Regions from separate parts of the Homo sapiens genome. Here region 2 is linked to region 1. The links are contacts of gene promoters, found by promoter capture Hi-C in blood cells and fetal thymus (Javierre and others, 2016). All regions are on one chromosome and are shown on one strand. The core of a region is centred on a gene start or on the middle of the fragment in contact, and the rest is flanking DNA. Distances in the headings are between cores, read along the strand shown. Region 1 holds the start of GPR34 (G protein-coupled receptor 34). Region 2 overlaps CASK (calcium/calmodulin dependent serine protein kinase).

Evidence for each region. Contacts are between HindIII fragments. The CHiCAGO score rates a contact against its expected background, and 5 or more counts as called.
Region 2: a contact is called between a fragment that was not itself captured here and the fragment with the promoter of GPR34 in region 1, in 1 of 17 cell types (M2 macrophages). The highest score is 5.0, in M2 macrophages.

What each region holds. Positions count from the first base shown.
Region 1 is chrX:41,687,361-41,690,941 of GRCh38, forward strand. GPR34 (G protein-coupled receptor 34) reads left to right here and starts at 1,613. Exons shown (of 3, transcript NM_001097579.2): 1 at 1,613-1,724; 2 at 2,383-2,475. All of the region lies in intron 5 of CASK (calcium/calmodulin dependent serine protein kinase), which reads right to left. The HindIII fragment of the contact is 2,059 bases long and covers 1-1,682 here.
Region 2 is chrX:41,550,132-41,553,712 of GRCh38, forward strand. The region is part of intron 21 of CASK (calcium/calmodulin dependent serine protein kinase); the gene reads right to left. Among named protein-coding and RNA genes, the nearest start is that of CASK-AS1, 34 kb to the left of the region's middle. The HindIII fragment of the contact is 2,307 bases long and covers 804-3,110 here.

The sequences.
Region 1 (3,581 bases), core at 363-2,862:
AATGCAGTTTGATAAAAGAAGGAAATCCTGTAACATGCTGCAACGCAGATGAACCTCGAGGATATGACACCAAGTGAAATAAACATGTCACAAAAGGACAAATACTGTGTGATTCCACTCATATGAAGTGTCCAAAGTAGTCCAAATCAATGAAACATAAAGAATCATGATTGTCAAGGGCAGGGGGAGAGGAGAGAAATCGTTTAGTGGTGAAGAGTTTTAGTTTTGCACGATGAAAAACTTCTAGAAACTGTTGCACAACAATGTGAATATACTTAACACTATTGAATTGTATACTTAAAAATGGTTAAGATGGGGCTGGGCGCAATGGCTCACACCTGTAATCCCAGCACTTTGGGAGGCTGAGGTGGGTGGACCACCTGAGGTCAGGAGTTTGAAACTAGCCTGGCCAACATGGCAAAACCCTGTCTCTATTAAAAATACAAAATTAGCCGGGCATGGTGGTGCATGTCTGTAATCCCAGCTACTTGGGAGGCTGAGGCAGGAGAATCGCTTGAACCTGGGAGGTGGAGGCTGCAGTGAGCCGAGATTGTGCCATTGTACAATCTCTTGTCGCCTGGGCAACAAGAGCGAAACTCCGTCTCAAAAAAAAAAAAAAAAAAAAAAGTTAAGATGGTAAATTTAATGTTACATATTGTACCACAATAAAATAAAATCCTGCCAATACAACAATATTGCAGGACTAATACAGCAACCACCTTCCTTCTCAGAGGTTCTAAGGGGAAGTAAGAGCTACAAAACATTTTTATTCTATTAATTTAAAAATATCCTGTCCCATAAATCATATTTATAACAAACAAAAAGCTCTGGAGAATATAATGTTCAGAAGAGTGTACCCAGAAATAATTAGAATGTTAGATACAGCCCAATGAGTCAAATATTTAGTGCAAACAAGCTGCAGGATAACAATTATGGGGAGAATAAAAACTAACTTCTTCATTTCAAATGACAACAAAAAAAGGGAAATAACACTAAACTGCAGGGCCAGCAGTTACATAGATGGACAGATAGTGGTTAAATTTTGGACTAGGATCAAAACCAAGACTGCAGAATCCCATCATTATTTCGCTTAAAATACAGGTGATGTTTTAATTTGCTCGGGAGAGTTTATCATAGTGATCAAAAGGGGAGAACACCATCAGAAATCTCATCTAGTCCTAATAATACAAGTTTGTTTTAGCAAAGGTCTTAAAGGAATACATGAAAATATGCTAAAATAATGTACAGATGAAAACTTAAGAAACAGAAATTCAGTGCTTGTGCTTTGAAAGTCCATATAGCATATTATGTATCATTTCTTACAAAACACAGAAAATACATATTTCTGCTTAGAATTTATAAAACTTTTAAATTTTGAGCGGGGGGAGGAAAACATTCCACAATTGTCAAGTTGGAAGGTATTCATAAAGAAGATATAAATAATTTCCTAAAGTTCAGTGTTGGTTGAGCTTAAAGTTGTTCCATGGTAGTAGGGCTTTTTAATATTTTCAAAAGGAATCTGAGAGTTGTCATACCGAAAAAAGAAAAAAAAAAAGAGGGGGAAAAAAAAAACCCTACCACCACATATGAACATAAAAAAGAAGAGAACCCCAACCAATTGCACCACGACCGGATGGAAGAGCCCAGCTGACACAACCAAGACGAGTCTCAGTGTCTAGGGAAGCTTGGGGTTCTGCTCCTTTTACTTCAGGCGAACCTGAACTGTGAGTATTTCTTGATTTCGGCTACATAAATGAACCTTTATTTCAGCTAAAATTTGATTATCTGAACATTCAAAGTGAAACGTGATTCATGGTGATAAGGCTACTCTAATGTCAGCAGTTATTCGCTTTTAGAACTACTGAGTAAATTGCTTGAATGACACCTCTGCCTTGATTTCAAATGAGACTGTCTTTTTAGTTACTTTAAGTACTTTAAGACATTCAAGGTATTTAAGCTCCTACTGTCAATATAGTCACATTGTTGATACTGCATTTGGATACTGCCATCAAGATTTTGCAGATCTACTTGCATGAATTAAAAGTTATTTTCATATGCAATACATTTTATTTCTAATGTATTATAAATTATAACTTATTGACTTTAAGTTATGCTGTCTCCCTATTTTAAATTACTGTCTTTTCTTTATTATATTATTACTATTTTATAGTATTACCAGACCATATAACATTTAAGTTTGGTGTTTCAGAAGTAAATAAGGTGAATATTAGATAAGAGAGAAAGCAAAATATGCTTTAGTTCAAATAATAATTTTTTAAAATGTGTTTCTAGGGACACAGTTAAATTTGTAACAAAACCTAACACACTATTAATAGTATTATTTCCAAAGTAATATGTTTTCAATTTTCATTTTTTATACAGCAGTTAATGCAATTTTGAAGCATGCCCTGAATAGATTCAGTCATTATCAAGTCAAACTAAAAACGGTGAAAGGTTGCGACTATTACCAAATAGGTATGTATTTCAACATAGCAATGTGATATTTTCACAAACATACCCAAACTGCATTTTAAAAGCTTCTGCTCATCTGGAGTCACAGTGGAATCTGTTGGGTCCTGCCCTCTGGGTCCAGTACTCCTACATGAGCCAGTTGAAAAAAAACTGCAGGAGTAGGTGGTGGTGCGGGGGTACAATGCACTAATACTAGGTTTTTGAACTTGTGAATAGGATTTGCCAAGTAACAACATTTAAAAAACACTATCTACTATTACAAAACTATTGTGACCACTTCAATATAGCACATGGGTCACAAGTAATGCCCACTGGGAAATTAATCCCCTATGTAAACACAGTGGTTTGTTTCTTGTCTTCACAAGCAATTCTTAACATATCAAACAGGTAGTTTAAAAAATATCAGTAAATAGCCTTATATAGTGAATGACATTGTAATGTACTAACCAACTTCAAAGGAGAAAAAAAAACAGTCACCAAGTTTAAAACAGAATGTAATTGTGATTTTTAATTAAAAAAAAAATTTTTTTTTGAGACAGACTCTCGCTCTGTTGCCCAGGCTAGAGTACAGTGGCATGAACACAGCTCACTGCAGCCTCTGTCTCCCGGGTTCAAGCAATTCTCCAGCCTCAGCCTCCGGAGTAGCTGGGACTACAGGTGCGTGCCACCACGCCCTGCTAATTTTTTTTTTTTTTTTTGGTATTTTTTAGTAGAGGCAGGGTTTCGCTATGTTGGCCAGGCTGGTCTCGAATTCCTGGACTCCAGTGATTTGCCTGCCTCGGCCTCCCAAAGTGCTGGGATTACAGGCATGAACCACTGCTCCCGGCCAATTTTTTTTTTTTTTATGTTCTTTTTTTTTGAGACAAGGTCTTACTCCGTCACCCAGGCTGGAGTACAGTGGAGTGATCTAGGATCACTGCAACCTCTGCTTCCCAGGCTCAAGCGATCCTCCCACCTTAGCCTCTCGAGTAGCTGGGACTATAGGCGCACGTCACCATACCCGCTAATTTTTATACTTTTTGTAGAGACAGGGTTTCACCATCTTGCCCAGGCTGGTCTAGAACTCCTGAACTCAAGTGATCCTCCCACTTCAGCCTCCCAAAGTGCTG
Region 2 (3,581 bases), core at 707-3,206, 140 kb before region 1:
GCCTGGGTGACAGGGCGAGACTCCGTCTCCAAAAAAAGAAAAACATATTCATTACCTCCAGAATTTCCTCATGCCCCTCTGTAATTCCTCCCTCCCTCCACCCCCATCTTGCATTTTCCAGAAGTTTATGTAAATGGAATCATATAGCGTGTTCTCTTTTTTGCCTGGCTTCTTTCACTCAGCATAATGATCTTGTGTTTCATCCATACTGCTGCATATATCAATAGTTTGATCCTTTTTATTGCTGAGTGGCATTCCATTGTATGGCTATATCACAATTTATTGATCTATTTACCCACTGATGAAACTTCAAAAAAATGTTAGCCATTCTAATAGGTGTGACCACTGAGATTCTAATTTTGTTACTGCATGTTTCCCCCTGGATGTTCCTCTGGTTCTTTTTAAAATCTGCTATGTCATTAACATTTTTTTTCTGCTCTCTGAAGATATTTTACAAGCTTATTATTGATTTTTAAAAACCTGGGCTAGGCGTGGTAGCTCACACTTGTAATCCCAGCACTTTGGGAGGCTAAGGTGGAAGGATCACTTGAGCCTAGGAGTTGGAGATCAGCCTGGGCAACATAGTGAGACCTCATCTCTACAAAAAAAAAAAAAAGAAAAAGAAAAAAATTAGCTGGGTGTGGTGGTGCACGCCTGTTGTCCCAGCTACTGGGAAGGCTGAGGTGGGTGGATTGCTTGGGTCCAGGAGGTCGAGGCTGCAGTGAGCCATGATCATGCCATTGCACTCCAGCCTGGGCGAGAGCACAATACCTTGTCTCAAAAACAAACGAACCAACTTCGTAAGCTTATTTTTAAAATCTTTGTCTCTTAATTCCAATATATGCAGTAGGTTTGGGTTTGTTTCTACTATCTGTCATTTCTGTTGGGTCTTACTTGTTTCCTTGTGTGCCTGATAATTTTGACTTGCTGGCTACTGCCCTGGAAAAAGTTTATGTCGGGCGGATAGGATGAAGTTAGTGGGGGTTAGGATAAAAGTGTTTGCCTTCAGAGACTTTCTGTTTATACCATACATCTGAAACTATTAGTAAAGAAAGGGGAAACTTCAAATCAAGTACATGGCTTCAGCTCCCCTGGCTGCCCCAGGCTGTGTGTACCTGGGTGCAAATCCATTCAAGGTGGACTGGTGGCCACAATTTGGAAGTTTGTTCCCAATTTCCTCATCTTTTGCTTTGCTCAGTGACAAGGCAGCTTTCTCTATAGTCCTCCGGTGTTGAAGGGAAATAAGGGTATGCTTATCTGTTTCCTTTTAGCCTGGGGGGACTGCCTCTTGCACTCCTAACAATGAGGAGGGTCTTCTAACAGATTCCCCAACTTGTACTGGCCTTAGATCTTAACCTTGGTTCTCTGGCACAGAAGTGTTCAGTAATGACAAATGCCCTGTTTGCAAAATGGGCCACTTGGTAACTCTGATATTCCACTTATCATTCTTATTAAAGGCTTTCACATAAAAATTGGTCACTGAGGCCTGGTGTGGTGGCTCACACCTGTAATCCCAGCACTTTGGGAGGCCAAAGTGGGTGGATCACGAGGTCAGGAGTTCACGACCAGCCTGGCCAACATGGTGAAACCCTGTCTCTACTAAAAATATGTGGTGGCGGGTGCCTGTAATCCCAGCTACTCAGGAGGCTGAGGCAGGAGAATTGTTTGAACCCAGGAGGTAGAGGTTGCAGTGACCTGAGATCATGCCATTGCACTGCAGCCTGGGCCACAGGGCGAGACTCCGTCTCAAAAAAAAAAAAAAAAAAAAAAAAAATTGGTCACTGAGCTCCCCAGTACCTTTTTTTATTTCCCGGACACAGAGTCTCACTCTGTCGTCCAGGCTAGAGTGCAGTGGCGCGATCACGGCTCACTGCAACTTCCACTTCTCGGGCTCAAGCAATTCTCCTGCCTCAGCCTCCCAAGTAGCTGGGATTATAGGTGCCTGCCATCACACCTGGCTAATTTTTTTTTTTTTTTTTATTTCAAGTAGAGACAGGGTTTTACCATGTTGGTCAGGCTAGCTTCGAACTCCTGACCTCAAGTGATCTGCCCACCTCGGCGTCCCAGAGTGCTAGGATTACAGGTGTGAGCCACCATGCCTGGCCCCTGATACCTTTTCAGCTATTCAGTGCTTTCAAGGTCATTTGAAAAACATATTTTCTGCGGCACTTTTCATTTTTTTTCATCAGGAGGATTTATCCAAATAATCTCATCCACCATTACAGGAAATAGGAAGCAAATCTGCTTTTTGCACTGCCATCACTCAGGATTCCTCCAGAGGACTCAGAGTTCTAGAAATTGGTGAAACATTTATATAGATGATCTGACTAGGCAGAAGAGGTCTGGAATCTACACAATTATTTTCAATAAATGCCCATAATATATGGTAACATTAAAGAAGACATTCTGTAAAATGTAAATATCAGTAAGAATATAATGGCATCATCACGGCAACGACTTAAAGATTGCTTTCCTCCTGCTTATGCTTGAACTGTTTCTCGAAGATCAGACTGAAAGACAATGCCAGATGGAAGGCTGCTGCTTCTCCATTTGGGCCCACGTTTCCTTATGTATAAAATGATGGCATCTGAAGTCCTCATCAGCTCCAACATTCTAAATTTAATACTATTTTTTGGGGAAACATGGGATAGCTGAAAGAGGCGATCAAGCAAAAGAGATTAACTGAGAAATCTCTTAACTAGTGAGAAAAATAGATAAAAGCAGGTAGAAATTTCTATGGACTCAATGTCTTTGGTCTCTTTTAGCTGGGTTCAAGTATTTTAGGAGGAACTGGCAGGATGCTTAATGGCTGTTATTTTTTGCCACATGAAACAAAACTCAGACATTATCTCTTTTGTGCTAGAAATAATCTGGTATATTGCCCAAGTACCAACAAAGGTAAAACCATCAATATTTTCCAAAAGACAGTTCAACTAAGGAAACGGTAACAATAATAGCAGAAATAGATTTTATCAAAATATACAGTGATCTGTGACTCCTTTTCTCTCAGTTAAAAACAGTGCCTAAAACCCCTAACTTTAGCCTGCTTTTAGGGCTTAAACTTTCTAGCAGAAAAGGTATTTTTAAAGGACTGGCAAGGTAAAGAACAAAGCTTCTGACTACCTCCTTCTAACAGTGAAATACATTTTATCTTCAAATACTCTGAGTGACACTGAAGCACTGCACCTACATTTTTTGCTGGTGGTGGGAATGGGATGGGCATGAAAGCATGTAGAAGGGCAAGGAGAACGTACATTTTTTTAATGCCATTCTAAAACAATTATAACAGCATATAGGAGTGGAGGGCTCTGCTGTGAGACCATGACTTGGCTCAGGGCTGCTCATCCAATCTCTTTCCAGACCTTCCTTTCTTTTTGTGTAAAATGAAGCCCTGACTCTGCAACTAGGATCTCACTAGATACTGAAGATATAGAATTCTTGGATGACTAATTTAAATTTTGTTTGGCTCGTAAAGGAAGGAATATATCAAACAGGTTTTACACTCTAAAATAATATAAAATTGGAAAATGGATGGTCAGGGCTTTGTTTTTATAACCAAGCAAAGCAAAACACGCATAAAA